2 separate regions of the Homo sapiens genome follow, and region 2 is linked to region 1. Evidence: promoter capture Hi-C in 16 types of primary human blood cells and fetal thymus (Javierre and others, 2016). All regions are on one chromosome and are shown on one strand. The core of a region is centred on a gene start or on the middle of the fragment in contact, and the rest is flanking DNA. Distances in the headings are between cores, read along the strand shown. Region 1 holds the start of POMT1 (protein O-mannosyltransferase 1). Region 2 overlaps NUP214 (nucleoporin 214).

The links. The method cuts DNA at HindIII sites, captures the fragments that hold promoters and counts their contacts. A CHiCAGO score of 5 or more calls a contact.
Region 2: a contact is called between a fragment that was not itself captured here and the fragment with the promoter of POMT1 in region 1, in 3 of 17 cell types (total CD8 T cells, M2 macrophages and non-activated CD4 T cells). The highest score is 5.8, in total CD8 T cells.

Annotation. Positions count from the first base shown.
Region 1 is chr9:131,498,054-131,504,323 of GRCh38, reverse strand. POMT1 (protein O-mannosyltransferase 1) reads right to left here and starts at 1,406. Exons shown (of 20, transcript NM_001077365.2): 1 at 1,251-1,406; 2 at 1-135. The coding sequence starts at 105. PRRC2B (proline rich coiled-coil 2B) reads right to left here. Exons shown (of 32, transcript NM_013318.4): 32 at 4,131-6,270. It also overlaps the pseudogene LOC124902290. RefSeq lists enhancers at 456-515, 1-752, 753-1,620, 3,109-4,308 and silencers at 1,086-1,235, 1,306-1,505. The HindIII fragment of the contact is 12,581 bases long and covers 1-3,220 here.
Region 2 is chr9:131,142,275-131,149,264 of GRCh38, reverse strand. NUP214 (nucleoporin 214) reads right to left here. Exons shown (of 36, transcript NM_005085.4): 12 at 4,511-4,985; 13 at 2,961-3,136; 14 at 1,681-1,775. Among named protein-coding and RNA genes, the nearest start is that of NUP214, 20 kb to the right of the region's middle. RefSeq lists an enhancer at 4,537-5,038. The HindIII fragment of the contact is 1,959 bases long and covers 3,920-5,878 here.

The DNA of each region.
Region 1 (6,270 bases), core at 157-2,656:
GGTGAGTCGCCACAGCCGGCTCAGTAACCCCATCCCAGTCAGGGCCACAAGGCTCAAGTTGATGTCAGCCGTCACCACTACAGGGCGCTTCAAAAATCCCCACATCTTGTAGAAAAGCGGGCTCAGGCAGACGCCCTAGAAAAGAAGGGAGGAGCCGTGGTCCATGAGGGCTCACGAGAGGCTACAGAAGGGATCCCCAGCCACCCGGCTCCCGGACACACGAGGAGAACCACAGCACAGCCGGGCTGCTGAGAAAGACCGAAGTTCCTGGAGCCTTGGTTCAGGTAGACATGTGGGGTGAGGGGCACTAGCAGTGAACTCGGGTGGGAATTCAGGGGATCTCAGGACTGGACATTCACTCCTTTCAACAACTCATTCCACAAAACCTGCCGAGCACGTCTTGGGCGCGAGAACACTGCTAAGGAACGCCAGGGTTTCTCCCCTCCCTCCCCGACGACCAGAAGCCCACAGTGCGGCCACAGCTACCTGACCCTGGGCAGCTCCTGGGTGCCATCTCAGCTGCTTACAGCCCAGGGACCCCAACCTGGCCGAGCCTCGGGGCCTCCTCATCTCTCCTCAAGGATGCATCTGCCCCCAGTGCCTCCCTGCCTTCTATCCCAGCGGCACATCATCCCCGGGTGCTCCCTTTCTCGCCTGGAGGGTGCATTTGCACCCTGCGCCCCCACGTTCTCCTCCAGGCTTCATCTTCCCTTGAGCTCCGCTTCTCTTGAGGCTGCATCAGGCCTGGGACACCCTGTCTCACACCAAAGCCGCATCTGGCCGTTGGCGCCCCGCTGGTCTCCTCAGGCCCCATCTACCCTGGACGCGCCCTTCCCTCCCTGAGCTGCATCTGCCTTGAGCGCCTTCGTCCCAAAAGGTCCCATCTGTCCTGGGAGTGCCTCCTCTCCCCTTGCAGACCGCATCTCCCTGGCCGGCCCTTCTTCCCCACAGGCCGCACCTGTCCCGTCCACCAACTCCCGAGGCTGCGTCGGCCCCAGCTCCGTCCTCACCCTGAGACTGCACCCGCAGCACGCCCTTCCTCCCTAGGGCTGCACGCGCCACGGAGTTCTTACTTCGGGGCTCGGCCGCCCGAACGCCGCATCTGCCCGGGCCCGAACCCCGCCCCCAGCTCCGGAAAGACGGGGACGCCCCCGGCCCCAGCCCGTCCGCAAGCCAGGGACCCGCGTCCGGCACTGACGGACTCCCCCAAGTCCGGGCTGGGCTCTCGTCCCCGGTGTCCCCAAATGTACCCGCGTTTCTCCGAGTCCACACAGAGCCGCGCCCGGCTCCCGGCAACGCCTCGGAACCGTCCGACTGGGCCGACGGTTGGGGGTGAGGCCGCTCGGCACTCCGCACCACCCACCGCCCTGCTCAACGTTCGATTCACCGAGCCTGCGGGGCCAGACGGGCAGCAGCGCGCGTGCGCACTGGGAGAGGGTGACGCGCGTGCGCAGCGGGCGAGGGCGCCGGTCCCGGAGGAGAGGCAGGTGTGAAACGCGGCGACCTCCCCTCTCTCGGGTGCTACTGTTTTGTGTGCCAGGATTTCTGTGTACTCTAAGCAGACGTGCAGATTTTAAAAAGCGCAGTGGGCTCCCACCCATCTTCTGCTCCTTGCTTTTTCACTCCATCTGGCGTGAAGATCTTAATTCTGCGTCTGCACAACGGCGTTCTGCCGGGCGCGCCAGTTTGCTCCTAGTTTTTTTCTTTTCTTTTCTTTTCTTTTTTTTTGAGACGGAGTTTCGCTCTTGTTGCCCAGGCTGGAGTGCAATGGCGCGATCTCGGCTCACCGCAACCTCCGCTTCCCGGGTTCAAGCGATTCTCCTGCCTCAGCCTCCCGAGTAGCTGAGATTGAAGGCGCACGCCACCACGCCCGGTTAATTTTTGTATTTGTAGTAGAGACAGGGTTTCACCATGTTGGCCAGGCTGGTCTCGAACTCCTGACCTGAAGTGATCCGCCCACCTCGGCCTCCCAAAGTGCTGGGATTACAGGCGTGAGCCACTGCGTCCGACCTTAATTTTTTTTTTAAGACACGGGGTCTCGCTCTGTCGCCCAGGCTGGAGTACAGTGGCAGGACCACGGCTTGCTGCAGCCTCGACCTCTCTGCCCGAAGCGATCCTCCCTCCTCGGCCTCCAGAGCAGCTGAGACCACAGGCACGTGCCCCCACGCCCGCGGGCGCTCCTAGTTTCCTTGCCGAAAAACATCGATGCCACGATCCTGCTTGCACATACATCTAGCGGTGAAGTGGCTGAGGGTAAGGGCATTTAAAACGGACCTAGGGCCGGGGGCGGTGGCTCACGCCTGTAACCCCAGCACTTTGGGTGGCCGAGGTGGGAGGATCCGTGAGCCCGCTTGAGTCCAGGAGAGCCTGGGCAACACAGCGAGACCCCGTCTCTACAAAAAAATACAAAAATTAGCGGGGCCCCTTGGCGTCTGCCTGCAGTCCCAGCTACAAGGGAGGCTGAGGCAGGAGATCACTTGGGGCAGAGAGGTCGAGGCTGCAGTGAGCCTTGGTCTCACCACTGCACTCCAGCCTGGACTACAAAGTGAGACCGTCTCAAAACAAAAAACAAAACCAAAAAAACCTGGACATCAGTGGGGGCTGCATGACCATCAGAGGCTCCAGTGGGGGCATCTCCCCTAAACTCCGTGGCAGAAGACTGGAGGCTTCTTCCTCCATTCCCAGGGCTCCTCCTCATCCATCAGCCTCTCCAGCCCCCTCTGCTGAGGGTCAAGAGCCTTCCCAAAGGCCTGCTTTGGAGCAGACATGGTACTTTTGGTTGGGTCAATGCACCCCTTCCCATGTTTTCCCTGAACAGTCGGCACCCAGAGCAGGGTAACTGACAGCAACGCAACCAGGCTGATGGATCACTCTTCTCAGCCTCGCTCCTTCTTGATCTCCTGGTCTATTTGTATGTTAATCTATACAGACCAAAAGGGCACACTGCAGGTTTAATAACCTTCATTATGGTTCTTGGCTGCCTGCAAGACTTTTTTTCCATGTTGGGCAACATAGCATTAGATGACACCAGTTAGAATTTCGTGGTTACTTCTTTATGGCTTACCCTTGAGGGGTTATGTGACTCACCCAAGATCCCACAGAGAGGCAAGGAGCTGGGGCTCACCTGGGTTTGTGGCCAGAGCCTGCAGGCAACTGTATTTACAGTGGGCAGGGAGGGTTCCCTGGGCCCCAGGAGGGAGTGGGGCTGGGCTGTTAAGCTTTGGTTCATGCCATGCTAACAGTGGTGGTGCCTCAGGACTTACAGCCTCCATCTTGCAAGCCCCCAACCTTAGGACTAGCCTCTTTCAGGGCTGGTCTCCGTTTGAGATTTTGTGAGCCACCTGTCCCTAGGGAGCAGTAAATCAGGGCAGTGAGTGTGGCTAGTTAAAGCTGAGATGCCCATGGCCAGGTCCCCAACTCTCTTCCATAGTCAAAAGGCTTAGAAGGAAGTTGAGGGACTGGGGTTCCTCATGGAAACAGCGTTTTATTTCTTGGGGGTAATTTATAAGTTTTCTTAGCTGGTTCTAGGCACTAAGCTAAAAGCTACTGGTGACTTTGAATCCACACTACGCCATGAGGTCGATACCATTACAATCTGTGTTTTATGATTAAGGAGACTGACTCAGGTGGTGAAACGTCTTTCCCCAGGTCAGTGAGGCAATGGCAAAACCGAGAACTGCTGCCTCAGCCCATTCTTACCTTTTACCCTTCGCTACCCCAGGCCTGGCTTGCTCCCTCCCCACCCCAAAGCACAGCATAATCCTCCTCCACTTCCTGCAAAAGCACCGCTAGAAGTGACAACACAACACGCCACATCAAATGCTTACCTCCTCTGACCAGCTCGTTTCTCACGGCAAGTGACGGGGCCACAGGCAGGCACTGTGCACAACCAGATGCCATCCGTGGGAAGAGGGTGGAGTGCTTGATGCTGCCGCATTTGGAAGATGCTTCTTAGCCACGGGTTTCAATCCCTTCTCTACCCACACAGCTTCTGTTAAGGCATTTCAGCCGTGCCACTCCTAATTTCCGTGTGAACTCTGTAAAATTAGAATTCTTTGATCTGTAGGTCTCTCTGGTCAAATGACCAAGAAACGAGGGATGTACAACCTGAGAAAGCACGTTCAGCTTTATCTTTTTAAACTTTTTTTATTTAAATAAGGAGAATTCTTTCATATGGAAAGAGCTAGTACAATCACATATTTGAAAGGAGAAACAATAGGTACTGAACCGGAGGGAAAGGGCGAGGGTGAGTGTGCCAGCACCGGCCTGGTGAATCCACGATTCGATTTCCCATCCAAGGTAAGTTTCCCAAAATACCGTATAAACAAGCTGCACATTACACCTCTAGCCATCGTCTGCCCTTTCAAATATCTGGTCTACATGGAAAGACAAAGAGGAAAGGCCAAAACATAAACAAAAGGAAACAAAAACAAAACACAACCCTCTCAGGAACCAAACAAAACCCCCAAATCCTTTTTTACTACACAAGGCATGAGGTCAAAAGCTTGAGTACAGTGTCCCCTTTAGATCACGGGAGAAAGGCGTCCACACAGAGCCTTAGCAGGAATTTCCACTCTGAGGCTTCAGAACATGCTGAAGATGGGGCTCTGAGGGTGCCACTACCATCCTGGAGGCCACCAAGTGGGGTGGAAACAGTGAAGAGCAGGTCTCACATGCCCGAAGACCACCAGCCAACTACACATTGGTGGCCCTGGTGGAGCATGGCTGGGCGACAGCGTCCATCCCCAACACTGAGCCACTCCTGTCCTGGATGACTTCCTGCTTAGGTCCGTCACATTTCAGAAGAGAGCTGGCTTTCTGGAAGCCTACGTTTCCCATTCATCACAGAACACGACAGAGTGCACACATCCTGGTATCCTTGGTCTTCAAAGGCCATTTCCAGCAGACCCTCTAACCCAGGCTTGTTCTGCAGGAAGTGAAAAGGGACAAATGAAGATTTGAGGGGCAGCCTGCAGCTACTTGGCACAGGGGAACCAAATGGCAAGGGAGAAGGCTCCACCAGAGCTGCCATGCTGCCGTAGCAGGCCAGACCACAGCATGGCTGTGCACCTGTGTGTGCTCAGCTTCCAGAAGCTGTCACTGACCATCGCGAAGGCAGATCCAGAAGATAGGAGGGTGACAGCACGGCTGGAGAGCACTGATGTCAACGTTTAACAAGGTTCCCCAGTGTCCCTAGAAGTGGCTGGAAGGACCACAGCTTTGGAACTGAACTGATTTTCTTGAATGTGAAATAAAGTCATCTTTTGTTTTCCCCCTTAAGGAACCTAGAGCCAGAGTGTCTATGAATTCCAAGTTTGAAAACAATATGAATGTTTAAAAAAAAACAAAAAACGCTGTGGGGAGAAGCCAACAGTTAAGAAAACCAAACCAAATGCAGCTGGCATTGAAGTCCCCAGTGGGTAGATGGGCATCTGAGATGTATACCCACACTCTGGACTTCATCCCACTCTAGTGGATGGTGGACAATACCGCAAGGCCACTGGTGGCTGAGCAACGAGCCGCATCCCCAGTGACCAAGGCAGAGCTGCCAGCGTCAGGAGGGCAACTTTAACAGGCAAAAGTGAGTGGGTTCTGACCCCCCAATCCCTACCTCAGCAGCAGGAAAGGGAAGTGCTGGTCTCCACCTGTTCCCACTAAGGCCCCGTGGTATCCTGGCAGAAGCCTCTGCATGTATCTGCGCTCTGAGGATGGGGGTTTGAAAACAAAATAAGACCCTACGTCCTACTACCTTGAGCTTGGCTCTAAAACCACGGGAAAGGAAGAGATATATTGCACCTTAAAACATCTCTGCACTAAGAACTGCATTTCATTAGACCAAGGAGGGGTTGGGGCGCTGGGAGGCCTGAGGCCTGCCCTCAGCCCCCCAAGTCTCATTTAAAACCTGCATCTCAGCGAAGAGACTGCAGCTCAGGTCACACACAGGTGGTGACTGCACCGAACTTCACATGCAATTTCCTGGCCTTTCCTGCACAGAATTAATTCAGACATTATATATAAATAGAGCAGTGAAACATTTACTTCTTTTTTTTTCACCTAGACCTACAACATCAATACATATAAATAAATTCTAGTGTTTTTTGTTTTTTTATTTGGGGTGGGGGAGGAGAAAGGAAGGAAATACCAGGTAAGAGAAAAGGGCTGGAGAACAGGTGACCTTTTTGTTTTTATTTTTTCTCAAACAGCAAGTACTGTGGGTCTGATACCAGGTTCACCTGAAGGGTACATCTTAACAGCATCCAGAAGGCTTTC
Region 2 (6,990 bases), core at 3,650-6,149, 360 kb after region 1:
TTCATTAACAGCAAACATTTATTTGACAAACACTGTATGTCATGCATCATGCCACACCGTGAACTGTGACCTGGGCACTTACTATGTACCTAGTACAGGTGTGTGTTAGGGTACAAGGGTTGGTTAGAGGGACACAGAAAGGAAAAGACATAACGCTTATTCTCAGGGCACTCAAGTAATCACGTGGGAAACTGACATACAATTCTCTTTACATTATACCATAAAAATAAACTGAGATGATGGACTACAAATCTAAATATGAAAGATAAAATAATAAAGCTTTTAGAAAAACATCTTTTTGACCTTGAAATAGAAAATTATTTCTAAAACATGAAAAGCATTAATCATAAAAGAAAAAACTGATATACTTAATTATATTAAAATGAAGAATGTGTATTCATCAAAGAAACAAAAAAGACAATGAATAGACAATTCACAGTGAGAACATATTTGCACTGTATGTGTGTGCGTGTGTGTGTGTATTCAAGGAACTCACTCTTAAAAATCAGAAGGAAAAAGCCAGACAATCCAACAGAAAAACAGAATAAAGACATGAACAGACACAACATAAAAGAAAATATTCAAATGGCCAATAATCATCTTTTAAAAAGCTTAATTTTGCTAATCATTAGAGAAATACAAATTAAAACCACAAAACCATACAACAAAAGATGAAAAATACCAAGAGTGGCAAGTATGTGGAGCAGCCAGAAGTCTCATACACTCTTGGTGGGAATCTACTAATGAGGAATACATGCAGATTCTATGACCCAGCAATCTCACTCATAGGGATACACCCAAGAGAAACTTGCATATGTGTTCATTGAAGATGTCAACTGGAACGGTCATAGCAGTGCTACATACAATGGCTTAAACCTGGAAACTACTCAAGCGCCCATCAGAGTGGAACAAATAGTTGTAATATAATCACACAATAAATTCCATACAACGACATGGATAAATCTCACAAACATAATGTTGAACAAAGCAGCCAGATACAAGAATACATACTGTACAAATCCACTTGATAGGAGGTACAGGCAGGCTAACCTCATCTATGCTGTTGGAAATCAAATCAGCTACTCTTTGGCAAGAGTAGTGACTAGAAGGGGACAGGTGAAAAAGAACTCTGGGGTTCTGGCCTCCGCCTCCCGGGTTCAAGTGATTCTCATGCCTCAGCCTCCTCAGGAGCTGGGACTACAAGTACGTGCCACCACGCCCGGCTAATTTTTGCGTTTTTAGTAGAGACGGGGTTTCACCATGTCGACCAGGCTAGTCTCGAACTACTGGCCTCAGGTGATCCGCCCGCCTTGGCCTCCCAAAGTGCTGGGATTACAGGCATGACCCACTGTGCCCAGCCAGGTTCTCGTAAAATTCTGTTTCTTGATCTGGATGCTAGTTACCAAGGTATGTTCAGTTGTTGACAATTCACTGAGCTGTACATGTATCATGTGTACTTTTTTCTATTTGTATTATACATGAATAAAAAATTAAAATAGCTAAATGGCTTTTACGAGTATACAAGTATTCAAACCTCGCACTTTGGTATTTACTATCACATAGTCCCAATTACTATGTCCAAGGTCTGAATTATAAAACATGAAAACTCATTTTATTCATAGGTATGCTTGGGGCAGTAAATTAATAAACACAAACATTGCAAGCTGAATTTAAACATACCTGGGGAGAGCCTGGCTTTGCCGCTGGAGGGGTTATCCTGGGTGATTTCTGTACCATTGAGGGCACTGGGCTTGAACTGCCCTGAGCAGATCGTCCTGCTTGAAAAAGAAGTCAGTTAAAATAGATGGCATTTATTACCTTTATTTCTCCTATCACAAATGTCCTTTCTCCAAATCTAAGAAATTAAGTTACACATTGCCCCTGGCCCACTTTCATGATTTATTTTAAAGAGTGATGACCACCAGTTGTGCTAGCCTCTGTTCTAAGATAATGAAAAAAATATATTAAAATTTTAGGAGCCAGGTATGGTGGCTCAAACCTGTAATCCTAGCCTTTTGGGAGGCTGAGGCAGGAGGATTGCTTGAGCCCAGGAGTTTGAGACCAGCCTGAGCAACATGGCAAGACTTTGTCTCTACAAAAAAATTTAAAAATTAGCCGACGGTGGTGGTACATGCCTGTAGTCCCAGCTACTCAGGAGGCTAAGGTGGGAAGATCGCTTGAGCCCAGGAGGTAGAGGCTGCAGTGATGTGCTTGGGTGAGAGAGTGAGAGGGTCTCAAAAAACAAAACAAAACTTCCTGTTTACAGTATGACTGACTGTGAAAATATGAATATAATCACTGCAGGTACTCTCTCCTCTGTACTTTTTTTTTTTTTTGAGACAGAGTCTCGCTCTGTCGCCAGGCTGGAGAGCAGTGGCGTGATCTCGACTCCCTGCAATCTCTGCCTCCTAGGTTCAAGTGATTCTCCCGCCTCAGCCTCCTGAGTAGCTGGGATTACAGGCACCCACCACCACACCTGGCTAATTTTTGTATTTTTAGTAGAGATGGGGTTTTGCCATGTTGGCCAGGCTGGTCTCGAACTCCTAACCTCCGGTGATCCACCTGCCTTGGCCTCCCAAAGTGCTGGGTTTATAGGCGTGAGCCACCGCACCCCGCCAAACAACTCTTGTGCCTGTGCTTCTTAAAGAACTGTTATGTAACTGCTCTTCATGGAGGGCAGGCTCCATATGAAAATAAATGCCCAAGAGCAAGGCATTTTTGACTCATTAAATACACTTAGCTCCATAAGAAGTGTCAGAGAGAAGAGTGGCAGCATTTAAGCAAGAGCAAATCTCCCAATTCAGAGTATGAAAATCACAGCACATTAATCATTAATGTATGATACAGGAAGCAAGAAAAAATAACCTTGTCCAACTATGTTAGCTACGACTCTTAACACTTAAAACCGTTAATCTGAGAAGGCAGGGCTGAGGTCTAAAGTTGTCTGCTTAAAATCATACCTGATGGTGAGGGCAAGACTGAGGACTTCAATGGCACGGAACTAGGTGGTGCTGAGAGAGGTGTGGGGTGGCTGAGTGGTCCAGAAGCAGCTGGCTTGGAGGCAGAAGAGAATGGCGACATCGGGGGTGCGCTCTGGGAGCTACTAACAGGAGTAGAGGTAGCTGCAGCAGTAAACCTGAAAAATGGCAGCCTGAAGGCCTCAGAAGAGCCTGCTAGAAGATTCTTTTACACTAGCATGAGCAATGTCATCAAAAGATAACTTATTATCTTTTATGTTAACTTACAAAGATAACATACTTTTTGCCTTCAGGAAACAAAAATGTTTAGCTATTTCTTATAAAAGGTGAAAGCTGCAAGGAAACATTTATCTTTTCGTCTGCTTATTTAGGAATTAATTATTCAGGGGAAATATCAAAACTAAGTTTATCACAATATGAAATACCAAGTTTATCATGATATGAAATACTATTGTTTCCAGCTGAGTTTTAAACAGGAGGTGGGACACAATTATGCTTAGGAGAGTTAGTACTTTCTCTTACCAAGGAAATTACTGAGAACTCGTTTTGAGAGTGAGCACCTTCTCTGGGGAGTGAAAAAGGAAGAGGAATGCAGGGAACTGTCTTTGGGATACTTATGGCCTAAAGGAAATGTAAAGTCGGTTCCACCTAAAGAGCAAAAGTCTGTAGACAATCTAAACTCCAGCATTAGATGACTGGTCAGATAAACTGTGGTGCAGTCAACAAAATGGAACACTATGCAACCCTTAGCATGAAGTGGATGTGTGCCAATTCAGTATTAACAGTAACTGTGGTGGCAGCAGCACCACCATAGCAACAACAGATAGTACAGGCAAGTAGGGAAAAAGCTGGTAGTACTTATACTCGATGGTTATCTTGGGAACTCATGGTTATCTTGGGAGGGGTTACAAGATATAAGGGATTGCTTCCCTCCAAAAGCTTACATTCTAGTGGGAAGAAAAGAACAAGATAAAGAAGTAAATAAATAAGAAATGAGTGAGCTGCCCGACCCAGATCTGGAGGAAACTGGATACCAACCTAAGAATTAGCAGTGAGCAGCCACGGGGCTTCATAGGGACTGTCAAGCAGAAGAATCACCTAACAATTTACAGTGTCACAAGATGACTTTGTGGCTGTGTAGACAGCAGTTCAGAGAGAGTTAAGGGTAGACACAGGGAGGAAAAAAGACTACAAGGGATTCATTTCCCTTCCAGGATGCATACTCTGGATTGCTTCTTTTTTTAAAATAAGGAATATTTCCTACATTTGTAACGTAAAAAAGCAAAACAAATACCTGAATATAAATCCCATAGTCAAAAAAATAAAATGCTAGCTAAGAGACCCTTCTGGACTCTATTCACTGATGAAATGCCAGTATTTTATGTTGGTTGAATTTTTGCCATTTGCAAGTATCACTCTGGGTAAAAAAATTCTACTCAGTTAACTCCTCTCAGAGTGACTCTACTTTTAGTAAATAACATCCAATATTTCTACCCAACTCACAGAAGAATCAAACTTTAGAAGTGACTTACTTTTCACTAAGGTTGACTTTGACAGCAGAGGTTGAGGGTGGGAAGGAGGGCTTCATTGCTATATTTGGAGCAGACACACTTGGCACTGGTGTGCTTTCCAGGGTAGGCTTAAAACCAGATGATCCAAAGGAGAATGAAGCAGCTGATGGAGCCACAGGAGACGCTGCAGGGGTGGGGGCTAGGGAGGCTTTAGAAGGGGGAACAAAAGAGAAGGTTGATGGGCCAGGGCCTGGGGCTGCTTTGGAGCTGTCGGAGCCACTGGAATATGAAGGGGGCTCCCCAGTGACCGTAGCAGATGACTTCAAAGATGAAGAACCAAAGGAGAACACAGTGGGGGCTCCACCAGCAGGAAGCAAAGAAAAAGTGGCAATGGGAGCAGCAGGTGATGAAGGTGGCAGAGAGGCAGGGGCTGCAGCTGCAGAAGCATCCAGTTTCTGTGGGGCTTGAGAGGAGGTTGGGGTAGTGGGAGTACTTCCTGCAGTGACAAAAAAAGGAAGGAAAATGTTAACACTGTAACAGTGGAGGTTCACATAATAGAAAGCAAGTGAAAAAGAATTTGTGGTAGAATAAAGCCAGAAATGTTACTAGTTTAAGAAGCAAAAAGAACACATGGGTACACAGTTCATGTTGGAGTTTTCAGGTCTCATGAGATAAATGAAACTGAAGGAAAACTAAGGAAAGACATTAGAATAATTGGACTTCATGGACTTCTCAGTGCTACTATGGCACACAAAACAGTTCAGTCACTGCAACATTTCATTAACAACCAGGAAAAAGTTTTAATTCAGACCTCCACCTTATTTCACTAAAAGTAATTCCAGATAAATACACATAGAAAGTCACATAAATACAGGTATCTCAAAACAAAGGAGGCAAATTGATAGATATGTTAGGTCTCAGAATCTAACACCTTGATAAATTTAGAAGTGACCAAAAAAAAAACAATCGCAAAGGGAGAAGGTTAAGATTTGTGTAAAAAATAGCTACTCAGGTACAATAACTAAATGGTAATGAACTAAAAAAAAAGATCCATAGCAAATGACAAATAAGATGTTTTCTATTTTTTAAAAAGCTCATACAAATTGAGATTTTAAAATTTCAGGACTAATAAACAGGGAAACTAACTCACATAAAGAAAACACATTCAATCTCTCTAATCAAAGAAATATAAACAAGGTACATTTTTAATTTGTCCTCTAAATTATAAGAATTTAAATATGTCTAACCCCTTATGTTTGGATGGGTAAAACAAACCTGAAACTTTTTATCACTGGTAGGTAACTAGTATTTTTTTTAAGAAAACATTTTGGCATTGTATAAAAAACTGTAAAAAACAGACCCAGTAATTTCTCTTCTAAGAATAAAGCTTACAAACATAATGCAAAAAATGAAAAAGATATTTAATGCAATCCAAATGGTTAAAAAGAAAAAAAAAAGTCAATGGAAGGCTGGGCGCAGTGGCTCATGCCTGTAATCCCAGAGCTTTGGGAGGGCAAAGCAGGAGGACCCTTTGAGTCCAGGAGTTTGAGACCAGCCTGGGGAACAAAGTGAGACCCTGTTGCTACAAAAAAAATACAAAAATCAGCCAGGTGTGATGGCTTGTGCCTGTAGTCCCAGCTACTTGGGAGGCTGAGGTGGGAGGATCGCTTGGACTTGGGAGACAGAGGCTGCAGTGAGCCAAGATCCTGCCACTACACTCCAGCCTGCACAACAGAGTGAGACCCCTGTCTCAAAAATGAATAATTTTTTTTTCTATTTTCCAAACTTTCCATAAGGTAAAAATATTAATCTTTAAATTAAATAACCAACTAAATAAGAAAAGAATTCTTTGTGTCAATATTTTCTATTTATATTAATAGGACTTGGTTGTTCCAAATTAGCTAAGATGGCAGTTTATCTTCATGGAAGACACTTTGTCTAATGCAACGTAATACTTAGATACAAGTATGAAAATACCACTTTCTGAAAACAAAAATCCAAGTAAACTGTCACATTGATGAAAGTATAATAATGCAAGCAAACCTATTCTGTTAATACTTCTTTATACAATAGATATGGAACCAGCTACAACTAACTTCTGTAAAGACATACATAGATGTTAAAACACTTTCATGCATATTAGGTAAACTGACATGAAAAATATATACCAGACCCTAAATAAATCAAAAGCATTTTTTCCACTGAAAACAGAACTGATTATTGGAAAACCATCATGCTACTACTACTTCTGATCAATACAGCATCCTTAGAACTGCAGTGTAGAAACAGGTGGAACCATTAATGTCTTCTGAACCCATGAAGTAGGCTTTAGCTAGACTTAGCTGATGGGACGGACTTTCTCCCCGCAGGGGCTCTCTTCTACACATCTGAACACAACTATAACCTCTGGACCAACTGTGAAGGAAGAGGGGAGTTTCTCTAGGAAAGGCTAACAGTAAAACTGGCCTCTGATTGTGCTCCAGCATTGAATGGGCTAGTAG